Regions from separate parts of the Homo sapiens genome. Here all the other regions are linked to region 3. Evidence: promoter capture Hi-C in 16 types of primary human blood cells and fetal thymus (Javierre and others, 2016). All regions are on one chromosome and are shown on one strand. The core of a region is centred on a gene start or on the middle of the fragment in contact, and the rest is flanking DNA. Distances in the headings are between cores, read along the strand shown. Region 1 holds the start of SAMD4B (sterile alpha motif domain containing 4B). Region 2 overlaps MRPS12 (mitochondrial ribosomal protein S12). Region 3 holds the start of GGN (gametogenetin).

What was found. The method cuts DNA at HindIII sites, captures the fragments that hold promoters and counts their contacts. A CHiCAGO score of 5 or more calls a contact.
Region 1: the fragment with the promoter of SAMD4B here is called in contact with the fragment with the promoter of GGN in region 3 in 1 of 17 cell types (naive CD8 T cells); the score reaches 5.2 in naive CD8 T cells.
Region 2: a contact is called between a fragment that was not itself captured here and the fragment with the promoter of GGN in region 3, in 16 of 17 cell types (naive CD8 T cells, total CD8 T cells, non-activated CD4 T cells and 13 more). The highest score is 19.3, in naive CD8 T cells.

Annotation. Positions count from the first base shown.
Region 1 is chr19:39,340,827-39,344,517 of GRCh38, reverse strand. SAMD4B (sterile alpha motif domain containing 4B) reads right to left here and starts at 2,097. Exons shown (of 14, transcript NM_001384574.2): 1 at 1,942-2,097. RefSeq lists a silencer at 1,979-2,408. The HindIII fragment of the contact is 6,593 bases long and covers 1,725-3,691 here.
Region 2 is chr19:38,932,084-38,936,287 of GRCh38, reverse strand. It overlaps MRPS12 (mitochondrial ribosomal protein S12), which reads right to left. Exons shown (of 3, transcript NM_033362.4): 3 at 3,120-3,955. The coding sequence ends at 3,588. It overlaps LOC124904713 (a long non-coding RNA gene), which reads left to right. Exons shown (of 2, transcript XR_007067253.1): 2 at 1-1,465. Among named protein-coding and RNA genes, the nearest start is that of MRPS12, 3.2 kb to the right of the region's middle. The HindIII fragment of the contact is 303 bases long and covers 2,494-2,796 here.
Region 3 is chr19:38,386,774-38,391,061 of GRCh38, reverse strand. GGN (gametogenetin) reads left to right here and starts at 3,028. Exons shown (of 4, transcript NM_152657.4): 1 at 3,028-3,087; 2 at 3,240-3,301; 3 at 3,782-4,288. The coding sequence starts at 3,801. It overlaps SPRED3 (sprouty related EVH1 domain containing 3), which reads right to left and starts at 2,365. Exons shown (of 6, transcript NM_001394336.1): 1 at 2,255-2,365; 2 at 583-763. The coding sequence starts at 759. RefSeq lists silencers at 1,239-1,533, 2,993-3,232. The HindIII fragment of the contact is 15,577 bases long and covers 1-4,288 here.

The sequences.
Region 1 (3,691 bases), core at 848-3,347, 950 kb before region 3:
TCTGAGGAAGTCTCAGGAAGCGCTGGGAGTGGGTGGCTGATGGAGGGCAATTTGGGAGAAAATTCTCTAAAAAGTGTCTGAGGAAGGTGTGGTCTTCTGAGACTGGTCCTGGAGTGGGATGACAGAGGGATGTTTTTAGGAAAAACTCTTCAGAGATCTCAGTTGAGGAGAAAGCTGAGTAAAGTCTCCAAAAGAGTATATGGGGAAGGCGGGGTCTTCTGAGAGAGTGTCAGAGGAGAGGGTTTTTCAGAAAGAATTATAGGACTTTCTCAGAGCAAGAGCTCGGGTTATTTTGGGGGAAAATTAGGTGTGTGTGAGGGTCTTCTTCAAGGGATTCTAGAGGATTTAGGGGACCTGTGTGAGCAAGTTCAGGGAGGGATATCTCTAGAAAAGTCCCTTAGTAAGGCAGAAGTATTGATTCAAGGGGTTCTGGTGGTGTCAGGAAGGTCTTGGAGGGATTTCAAGAACATACGTCAGGAGGGCTCCAGGGGGTCGCTGGGGTCTCTAAGCTGTGTGTGTGTGTGGGGGGGGGGGGTCCTGAAAACCTGCATATCAGAGGGGTCACCAAGAGAATCTTACGGTCTTACAGGGGTTGTGAGGAGGATCTTCAGAAAATTCCTCTAAAACCGGTCTGCAAGGGGGGATTCTGAGGTGTTAGTGAAGGGGAGTTCTACGGGATCTGAGAGAAAAACCATGAGGAAAGTTTTCAGGATCCTTAAACAATTTTTGGAGCGTGTGATGTGGGGGACTGGAAAAGATGTGGAGTATGTAAAAGGGATTTTGGAAGAAGCTTTTGGAATATGATGCTGAGAGTCCTCTGGAGATTTCAGGCAATTGCTGGAGATTTTTAGAATGAGTGGGGGTGGGGAAGGGGATCCCGGTGAAGATCACTGGGCTACATGAGGGTGATCTCTAGGGCATTTTAGGGTGGTGAGACCAGGGGGAGACAGGAGGCCTCTGGGGGAGACTTTTGGGATCTGTGGAAAGGTCCAGAGGGATACGTGAAGGGGGAGTGTGTATGAGAGATGGTTGCAATACGGTGGGGAGGGGGATGGAGTCTTCTAGGTGAGTTTTTGGGATCTGGGGGCATTTCACAAAGTCTGTGAGGAAGATTTATTTTGGGGATATGGGAAGGAGATCTTCAGGGAAGATGATCACGGTCCGTCGGGGGCATTCTGAAGGACTTCTGGGAGGGGGAATCAGAAATGCAGGGGGTATGAGCGGAAAATCTCCAAGGAGGTTTCTGGAATGGGGTAAGTGGGAGGGAAAATTCTTAGGATCCGGGAGGGGGAAGTCGGGTGAGCCTGTTGGGCTGTGAGAGGCAGGGCTCCGGGGGAGAGTTCTGGAATGGACAGGGGTCCGGAGGGAGCCTTGGGGAGGTGTGCAGGGCTCGTGAGGGAGGCTCCTGGAGCAGCTATGAGAGCCACGCTGTGGAATGGACGAGGAGTGGCCTCCGAGGACTATTTCTGGAGACAGGAGGAGGACGGGGGCTTCGGGGCCAAAGGGCGGGGGTCTGCGAGGAAAGCTGCTGGGACCCATGAAGGGCTCGAGGAGGCGACTCCACGGGAGGGGTGGGTTTTGCGGGGACCTTTCAGGGCGCACACGGGGGATCGGCAGGCTTTCCGGGGCTCTCCGAGGGGGATGTGCGGGGGGTCCTGAGGAGAGGCCCCCGGCCCGGCCCCTCGGCAATCCCGAGGGCATGAGAAAGATTTCGGAGGGAAGCTTCGGCCAGGGCCCAGGAGGGAGACTGGGGACGGGCGCGGGGCTTCTCCCGTGGGGCCCGGCCCCCCGAGGCCCGCGTTCCGCACCCGCCCGCCGCCGCCGCCCGCGGTTCGGGGTCCCTGAGGGGGCGGGGCCGCCCGCGCGGCCTGGGTCGCCCTGAGGGGAGCCCCGCGCGCCCCGACTCGCCGCCGCCCCGCGCCGGCCCGGCCCGAGACTCACCGCCTCGGCCTTCGCCGCCACCGCCGCCGCTCGGGCCTCCTCAGGCCACCGCCGCCGCCGTCGCCCCCTCTCGGGCCCGCAAGCTCCCCTCCCTCCTCCCGCACCGACCACCGCCGCCGCCGCCGCCGCCGCCGTCGCGCTGCGTCACCGCGCCGTGCGTCACCGCCCCTGGCCCCGCCCCGACGGGGGCCGCCGCGCGCCGGCATTAGCTCACGCCCGGGTGACGAACGGCGCGCCAGCCAACGGGCGGCGAGGGCAGCCCGAAGGGCGGGAGGTGTGAGCCGAGTAAGGCGGGGTCGCGGCGAGGGGGGAGCGACGGTGGTGGAACGGGGCCCAAGAGGCCCGCCCCCTCCTCGGCGGGATTGGTCGGACGTGGGGGTGACGGGCAGTCGGCCAGGCCTGGGGTTTGGGGCTGGGGGGCGGGGAAGGGGCGGGGCGCGCGGGGCGTTGCCCAGGGCAACGGGCCCGGCGGAGTCTGAGGTTGGGCCTCCAGGCCCGCAGGGGGCAGGCTCGCGCGCGTCCACCCCAGCTGCCCCGAGCGAAGTCACAGTTCCTGATTCAGGCGTTCCAGGCCTCCTCTTCCCCGCCCCTTGGGTGGCCCGCCTCACCCAAGGCTGTCCTCAGTGGGCGTCTGCACTCGGGCTTCTGGGCGCTCGGCTTTCTCATCGCGCTGTTCTCAGCCTTGCCGCTTGCTCTCTCCGATGGGAATGGCGAGGCGAGATCTAGCCTTTAGGGTGGGAAGAGAATGCACAGAAAGCGCTAAGGATCAAGGAGGCTGTCAATAAACGGGAGTTGTTGCTGTGACTTTGGTTGTGATCTGTGCGTTCCACAAACTGTATTGGGTCCGGGTGAACTAATCAGAGGGACCTGTGTTCAGAAGGCTCTCGGTGACAGAGATCTGGCTTGTTACAGGCACTTAGAGAGGCAGTCGGGATGGAGGGTCGAGTTGAAGACAGGGAGGGGTGAGGAACGAGCAGAGGCCAGTTGTTTGGCCACTTGAGGGAGTTTGGACTTGTCCCGAGGGCACTAGGGAGCCGTGAAGGGCTTCAAGCCGGGGAGGATCATGGTGAGTCTGGGGTTTTGGAGAGATGTCTCTCTGGCTTATACATGGAGGGCGGATTGGAGGGAATGAAACGGGATCGGGAGTCCAGGGAGGCAGCTGGGGGAGGGGGTGGGGAAGAAAGAGGGGGTTTGCACGAGGGAGGGACTGTGGGGAGGGAAGGAGGTGCAGGTGGGAGGGACGCCCTGGAGGCAGAGCGAACGGGCCCTGACACTGGCTGGCTATGGAGTGGAAGGGGGAGAAAAGTTTAGGACCAGGCCCCTCTAGCCGGGAGACTGGGCGCCAGAAGCAGGTTGGGAAGATACTAAGCCCAATGTGGATGCCTAGTAGCGAGGTCCAGGAGGTGCACAAACCCTGGGTCTGGAGCTTAAGGGAGAAATTGAGGCTGGAGACCAAGATTTAAGGATCGTCAAAGATGGTAATTGAGGCTGTGGGAGTTAGGGGTCTAGCCCGGGGAGGGTATGAAGGGTCACTGGAGACAGGGACTGAACAGAACCCTGAAACAGAGAGGCAGGATTTGAGCAAAGGAATTGACGCTGTCGATGAATATTGCAAAAGGCAGCCAGAGAGAGGAAAACCAGGAGAGTGTGGCATTATAGACGCTTTGAGGAAAGGCTGTTTCACCAGGGTGGGGCCATGTCACAAACCCCATCCACTACCTCCTGCATTTAAGCAACAGCCTTCACACTG
Region 2 (4,204 bases), core at 1,396-3,895, 550 kb before region 3:
CAACAATTCCTATGGAATCATTATTAATTGGTCACCTATGGGGATGTTTAGCTTGAACTGCACCTCTCAGTCTGCATGCCATGGCCACACTGTGATCAGCTCATCTGAACAAAATGGTCAGATGATAGAAATGGTAAGAAATACAGCAAGAGTTCCTATTATCTGGAACCATGGCAGTATAGTGGCACCTCAGCCTCAAATGATATGGCCTGCTCTAGGAGCTAAACATAAGCATTTGTGGAAACTGTTAATAGCTCTTAATAAAATCAAAATTTGGGAAAGAATAAAAAAGCATCTAGAAGGCCACTCTACAAACTTGTATTTGGATATTGCAAAATTGAAAGAACAAATATTTAAAGTATCCCAGGCACACGTGAACTTAATGCCAGGAACTGGAGTGCTTGAAGGAGCTGCAGACAGATTAGCAGCTAGTAACCCATTCAAATGGATAAAAACACTTGGAGGCTCTGTGATTTCAATGATGATTGTGCTTTTACTCTGTGTTGTTTGTCTTTGTATAGTGTGCAGATGCGGATCCTGACTCCTGTGAGAAGTAGCTCACCGTGACAAAGCTGCCTTTGCTTTTATCACTTTGCAAAACAAAAAAGGGGACATGTTGGGAACAGGCCCCTGAATCTGGCCATAAACTGGCCCCAAAACTGGCCATAAACAAAATCTCTGCAGCACTGTGACATGTTCATGATGGCCATGACCCCCACCCTGAAGGTCGTGGGTTTACTGGAATGAGGGCAAGGAACACCTGGCTCACCCAGGATGGAAAACGGCTTAAAGGGGTTCCTGTACCACAAACAATAGCATGAGCGATCTGTGCCTTAAGGACATGTTCCTGCTGCAGATAACTAGCCAGAGCCCATCCGTTTATTTTGGCACATCCCTTTATTTCCCATAAGAAATGCTTTTAGTTAATCTATAATCTATAGAAATAATGCTTATCACTGGCTTGCTGTCAATAAATATGTGTGTAAATCTCTGTTCGAGGCTCTCAGCTCTGAAGGCTGTGAGACCCCTGATTTCCCACTCCACACCCTGTATTTCTGGGTGTGTGTCTTTAATTCCTCTAGCGCCACTGGGTTAGGGTCTCCACGACCCAGCTGGTCTCGGCACTCTGGGATCCTGCCACGGGGCTGTGTAACCAGCCATCTCTGTGCAACATGCCCAGCACTGCCTGTCAGCATCTCCTGTTCAGGTCAGGCTAGCACCTCTCTCATCAGAATTCCAGAATTCCATCAGAGGCCAAGTCCCCCACCCCCACCTCCTGCCCTTGCTTTGGGGGCAACTTCCTGCAAGGTAACACTTCCTTTTCTCCACACTCCTGTATACAGACTCCTGGAGCAGAGTGTGCCATGAGGAAAAGCTCTCCCATCCCCCCATCTCCCTCCACTTCTCTATTTCTCAGCTAGGCATGGCCAACAAACTAGCTCAATAAAACTGGTGCCAAATATGAGGGGATGGGCAATTTTTATCTGTAATCAGTGCACTTATCTGCCACCAGCTCTGATCCTAAAAGACCTTGTGGCCTCATGTTTACAATCAGGAGACCCTCAGGAGGCTGTGTGTTGAGCGTCAAGAGGAACTCGGAGACAGCTATGATGCTCCAAACAGCTCTCAAGCATGCACCCTTATCAGCGCCATTTGGTCCAGGCTCAGAGTGTAAACAACCTGCCCAAGGTCACCCAGCCAGTAAGTAGGGGAGGCAGGGCTTGGAGCAGTGCTGGGCTCCAGAGCCCAATGATATAAACACAGTTCCAACATTGTTTTTTCTTTTTTCTTTTTTTGAGACAGAGTCTCACTCTGTCACCCAGGCTGCAGTGCAGTGGTGCTGATCTCAGCTCACTGCAACCTCCACCTCCCAGGTTCAAGCAAGTCTCCTGCCTCAGCCTCCTGAGTAGCTGAGATTATAGGCACATGCCACCATGCCCGGGTAATTTTTGTATTTTTAGTAGAGACAGGGTTTCACCATGTTGGCCAGGCTGGTCTCAAACTCCTGACCTCAAGTGGTCGGCCCACCTCGGCCTCCCAAAGTGTTGAGATTACAGGCATGAGCCACTGCACCTGGCCCCACTTCTTAAATCTTACATGGCCAAAAACATGATCAGGTGCAGTCAGCATTATCATCAGTGCCATTTTCCAAGGGAGGAAACCGAGGCCCATAGGGGGAACCAACATAGCCAGGTCTCATAGCAATTATGACGGGGAGCAGAATTTGAGCTCAGGTGAACCCAGTAATAATTTTATATTATTATATAATATAATAGTGGCTCACACCTATAATCCAGCATTTTAGGAGGCCAAGGTGGAAGGATCTCTTGAGGCCAAGAGTTCGAGACCAGCCTGGACAACAAAGCCAGATTCCCACTCTAAAAAAATGGAAAAGTTAGCCAGGTGTGGTGGCACACACCTGTGGTCCTGACTACTCAGGAGGCTGAGGCGGGAGGATCTATTGAGCTCAGGAGGTCAAGGCTGAAGTAAGCTTTGATCATAGAACCGCACTCCAGCCTGGACAACACAGTGAGACTCTGTCTCTCTCTCTACACAAACACACACAAACACACACACACACACACACACACACACACACGTATAAAATAAAAGAACAGCTCCCGGGTGTGGAGCAGCACACCCCATTGAATCCTTTCCACACCCCTTCCACATCAACATTACAATTACTGCCATTTTCCAGCTGTCCATGCTTGAGGGCAGAGTTTATGTGCCCAGAACCCATGGCCTGCAGGAAGAAGACCTGGGCCTCTGTGCCACCTACCTGACTCCTAAGCTTAAAATACAGTAGCCCTCTGCCAGGCGTGGTGGCTCACGCCTGTAATCCCAGCACTTTGGGAGGCCAAGGTGGGCAGATCACCCGAGCTCAGGAGTTTGAGACCAGCCTGGCCAACATGGTGAAACGCTGTCTCTACTAAAAATACAAAAATTAGCCAGGCCTGGTGGTGTGTGCCTACAATCCCAGCTACTCGGGAGGCTGAGGCAGGAGAATCATATGAACCCGGGGGGCAGAGGTTGCAGTGAGCTGAGATCAGGCCACTGCACTCCAGCCTGGGCAACAGAGTGAGACTTTGTCTAAAAAAAAAAAAAAGAGCCCTCCGTGCGTGTTATGCACATAGAGCATCGAATTTAATCTTCACCAAACCAAACAAAGGAGATACCACCAATGGAGCTATTTTCTGGAGGAAACTGAAGCTCAGAGATGTCCACTGCCACAGCCACACAGAGGGCAAATACTCCACAAGGGGATTTACATCACAAGCGCCAGGGTCTGTTTATTAAAACCCCTTCCCAGCAGAGGGCAGTACAGTGTCTTGTCCCAGCAGAAAAGGTCCTTCAGGCCACCCCTCTAAACACAGGAGCCAAGGGTGTTGACAGAGGGGCACCCTTTGCACCCCCAGGACTCCTATGGCTTAATAGTGGTCCTGATGGAAGAGGCGGAGCCAGGACTTGAATCCATGAGTGGCTGCCTCTAGAGGCGCAAAGGCCAGCATCGGAGGACCCTGTGGCAGCCAGGAGCGGAAGGTTCATGTTCTGCAGGGGCGCCCAGCCCACTGTGCCCCCAGCCGTCACTTCTTCTGCACGTGGCCACAGTCGTACTTGCCACGCACAACGGTGAGCTTGACGCCTGGCAGGTCCTGGGTGCGGCCGCCCTCCACAAGGACAATCTGGTGCTCCTGCAGGGTGTGGCCCTCCCCAGGGATGAAGCAGACGGCCTCGCGGCCAGTGCTGAGCCGCACTCGACAGCACTTGCGATTGGCTGAGTTGGGCTTCTTCGGCTTGCGGGTAAACGTGCACAGGACCACACCCTTCAGCTGCGGCCGGCCTTCCGTGGGGCCCAGCTTCCGAGGCGGCCGCTTGGGGGGCCCCAGGCGGTGCATCTGGTTCAGGGTAGCCATGGAGCAGGTAGCCCAGAGCCGGGGAACCAGAGCTGGGCCTGGAGAGGGCCGAAAGGGGTTATTATCCCAGAGAACAGATCTTAGAGTAGTAGCAACTCAATTTTGGTGTTTTAGGCATTGTTTAAAGCACTTTACAAAGATGCATTTGTTCACATCTAATGTTATCTACAGACAAAAGTAACTCTTTATTCTTCAAGGAAGCATTACCTTTTTTTTTTTTTTCTTTTTTTTTTTTGAGACAAAGTCTCACTCTGTCGCCCAGGCTGGAGTGCAGTACCTCAATCTTG
Region 3 (4,288 bases), core at 1,779-4,278:
AAACCTTTCCCCCAAGCCTTTCACACAATCCATATCTTTCTACTACATCCCTAGCTGAAACTGATTCAACACTGTCCCTCCACATTGTGCCCGACAGCCCAGTTATTCCTGATGAACCCATGTATAGAATTGTCAACCATCTCTGACACTTTCAAATGGACCCCAGCAAATGCTTCACTATACTTAGGGCAGACAGGGGCCAGGTGGTGTAGGGCCTCGTGGCAAGGATCTCTGAGCAAGATGGAGGGTTTTGAGCAGAGGAGGGACATGGTGTGAGTCGGGGCGGGGGGGGGGGGGCAGTGCCCCCTGTGGAACAGCCTGGGGTTGGAGCGGGGAGGAGGAGCAGTACAGGGAGACAGCGAGGATAGTCTGGCTGGAAGTGGCAGTGGACAGGACCCTCCAAACACCCCATGTATCCTGCAATTCCCAACTCTTATCTACAGGACAGATATTCACTCCCAAACTTCACACCCCAGCTTGATTCCTAGGCTGGGAGGCAACCTGACCTCTGCTCCACATGCCAGCCCCTCTCCCCTCCCTCCCCAGGTCCCTACCCTCCCCGCATGCCCCAGGGTGGCTCACTTTCTGGTCCCGGAGGCGTTCCCCGTGGATGACGTAGTGCCCCTGGCGGGCCCCCCCCTCGGGCCTGGCCCCTCGGACCCGACACACGCTCACCTGGCTGAGGCCCCCGCCCCCCACAGGCAGCCAGCCCCCACTGGAGTCATCTCGGGCCATCACCACAGCTCGGACCCGCACCATGTACCTGCAGGAGGTGGGGGGAAGGACAGGGACAACACAGTCATGAGCTCAAACCCTGCTCTCCCATGGAATGTTCCCTCAACCCTCATCTCCCCTCCAACTTCATCTCTCACGTCCAGGTCCACTGCACCCTAAGCTAGCAATACCCACCTTCAACCCCATGGCCACCGTCTTCCACACAGCTCCTTTCTTCCTCATGCCATCTCTTCTCTCTCACCTCTATCTTCTTCTCCATGTCTGCCCTTTCTCTCTGTACCCACCTTTCCCCCATCTCTCCGTCCCCACCCCCATAGCCCTGGTGTTGCCCTTCCCTCCCCCTCCTGCTTATCCCTATCACCCCCTTCTCCTCCCTCAGCACATACCCACAGCCCCACCCAGTGCTCCCCCTCACAGCTGGGTGCCTGCGCATATATATTTTCTCTGGGCCCATCAACTCAGCTCCTGTTCTCCCAACCCTGCCTCCGCACCCTGTCGTCCAGGCCACAGGCTGGGTGAGAAACCCAGGCTCTTTCCCCCCCACCCACCCCTTCCCGGATTTATGAATGAGACCGGATGCAAAGCTCACTGAGTCACCCAGCAACGGGAGATGGGCAGGGAACAGGGAGAGAACCAGAAATGGCCAGAAAGAGAGGCTCAGAGGGAGACGGAGGCAGAGGAAGTCAGAAACGGGCGACCGAAGACACATCCAGAGAGCATTTCATTCACAAAAATCAAGGCTGCTCCCCCAGGCCCCAGCCGAGGGAAGCCAGGGGGGAAAGATGGGATGGGGGGGCAGATTGATCCTTCCTCCCTCTTCCCTTCCCGCCCCCCAGCCCCAGCATCCTTCAGAACCATTTTACCCCGCCCCCCAGCTCAGAGGACGTAGCCCTCCGCCCAGTAATCGGGATCAGTGTCCAGCCCTTCACTGCCATCCAGCACAGGGACCCTGGCGTCCCAACCTTAGGGACCCGGACGAGCTCTAGCCCCCTCCCCCACCTGCAGGCTGCTGGGTTTCCCGGGCCCTTCAGGAGGGGAAGGGGCGGCTGCAGCGCCCCCAGCCCCCTTTTCTCAATGGGATGGGATTTTGTGAATGAGCAGTCACGTGACGCTGCTTCCTTTGTCCGCCCGCCTCCCCCGACAACAGGTGAAGCAGGGAATGAGAGCAGGGGTCCCCCCAGGGCCTAGCTGGAATGGGGCACTGGCATTTCAGGGTGGCCTACGCTCCCCACACATCCTGTGTCCCCCGGGGGGAGTGGTCCTCAGCGTTCCTCAACGGTGAGGGTCCAGGACGGAATTTTGTGAATGGGGCATCCTCGGAGAAAGTCCAGACCCCACAAATGAAGACTGGTACCCTGAATGGCTGCCGCGCAGTTTGGGGGGTCCCCACTCTCTAGTCCTCCTAGCCGGGGCCTTGGGGGCGCCTGGGTGGGCAGAAGGCGCAGCGCGGTCACGGCCGCCCCCTCATCGGGGCAGGCAGTCTGTCAGCCCCCGCCCCCTCGCCCCCCTCGGCACCTGCCTGCGAGGCTCCGGCCGGGCTCCGAGCGGCGGCGACGCGGCCTCCTCCTCCTCCTTTTCGTTCCGGCTCCCTGGCTGGCTCCGGCGGCGCTGGAGACGGGCACCGGGAGCCGGGGCGAGGGGGGAGGGAGGGGGAACCTGGAAGACGGGTGGGGGGGGAAGGGGCGGCTTGGGGGAGGGGTAAGAGCGAGGCGGGCTTACTTGCCTGCTGGGTCCTAGAGCCCGGCACTAGCTCCAGAGAGCAACCCCCCAGCCCCCATTTTCTTAAGATCCAGAGGGGATCCCCCACTTTTCCACCCATCTGCGCCATTGGTCTCTAATGCTATGAGGAGGGGACGGGGCAGGGACAGGGACTGGTCTCAAGGTTCTAAAGAGGTGGTGGTCTACGCTGTGGCTTGGGTGCCTGGCAGAGTTCGATAAGGGGTGGGGCGAGAGGGGAGCCTTCACAAGTGGGTGGGGTTGGAGGGCCTGGGTATAAGGAGGTTTGGATGCTGCAGGCGAGGACTAGTGCGTGCGTCACGAAGGGGCGGGCCCACGGTGGATGGGCCTTCTCGGCGCCCGGGGGGAAGGAGAGGGTCTTGAGAAGCGATGTTGCCGGGTCTTAAAAAGGCGGAGCTTAGAGGTAAATTGCCTTAGGGGCGGGGCAGATGAGAGGTCCAAAGGGGAGGAGCGACGCATCGGTGTTCGCGTGGGCGGGGCCTCGGGAGGGAATGAGAGGGGCGGGACATTCTAAAGGGGAGGGGCTAAGGAGAACAACCCAAAGGGGTGGAGCTTAGAACCAGAAGGCCTGGGGGCGAGGAACAAGACCTCGGAGTATTTCAAGGGGAGACCTAGGTTCGTAAGGGGCCGGGCTCCCGCGGGCTCGCAGGAGGGCGGGGCCTCGAGCTCCGGGGGCGGGGCCTACATCTCGGGGTCCGCCCTAGTTGTCTCGCCCACTTGCCTTCACCCGCACCCCCGTTCTTTTCGGTTATTTTCTGCTACGGCAGTTCCCTGCCCTGCCCCGGGCCCAGGGCGCCGCGGTCTGAACTCTGCTCGGCTGGAGGACTCGGTGAGTGGGTTCCTCTGGGGGGAGGCGGGGCCAGGGCGGAGCTTGGGGACAGGGGTGGAGCTTGACTGTGGATGCCAGCTAGTAGACCTGGAGCGGGAAGAGGTTTAGGGGTGAGGCCTGAGGATCTGCCCCTGCCTGGGAAGAGGGCGGGACCCAGGTGCTCTAGAGAGAGGCGGGGAGTCGGAGAGTTAGAGGAGAGGACTGAGGGATCAGCATGACCAGCCAAGGGGACAGGCATGGAACCTTAGTACATAATGGGGCTGGTAGTGAAGTATCTTAACAGCAGCTGTGTTGGGGACATGGGCAAGAAGGCGTGAGTGTCGAAGGTCGGGGAACAGGAGTGCGACCTAAGGACTTGGGCCTGATCGGATCTTGGAGAACAGGGGCGGGGCCGGTGCGGACGCATTAGATCAAGTACAGCCAGCCTCGTAGGGTCCCCACGGCCCTGGCAGGCTGACTGGAGTAAATTTTTCTGACTAGTCTCCGAGCTCCGTCAGAAATGGGGAACTTGCAGTCGGAGCCATCCGCGGGCGGGGGCTCCCGAAAAGTGCAGCCCTCGGACCGCGCCCCCGACTCCCGCCGGACGTCCCTGGTGGAGCCCGAGATGACCTCCCAGGCCATGCGCCTGACTCGTGGGCTGGGTGTCTGGTTCCCTGGCAGCGCCACACCCCCGGGACTCATGGTACCCCGGGAGCCCCAGGCCTCACCCTCGACCCTGCCCCTCACCTTAGAACGGCCCTCTCCAGTGATGCCCCCTCCTGAAGAGGCGGCCGCGGTCTCTGCACCACCCCCGGCCCCCGCGGGGACTCTGCTGCCCGGCCCGTCTAAATGGCAAAAGCCCGCGGGCACTCCAGTTCCCCGGATCCGCCGCCTGCTGGAGGCGAGCCATCGCGGCCAGGGCGACCCTCCGAGCCTCCGCCCGCTGAAGCCGCCGCCGCCGCCCCGGCAACTATCCGTGAAGGACACTGTCCCGAGGGCCCCATCCCA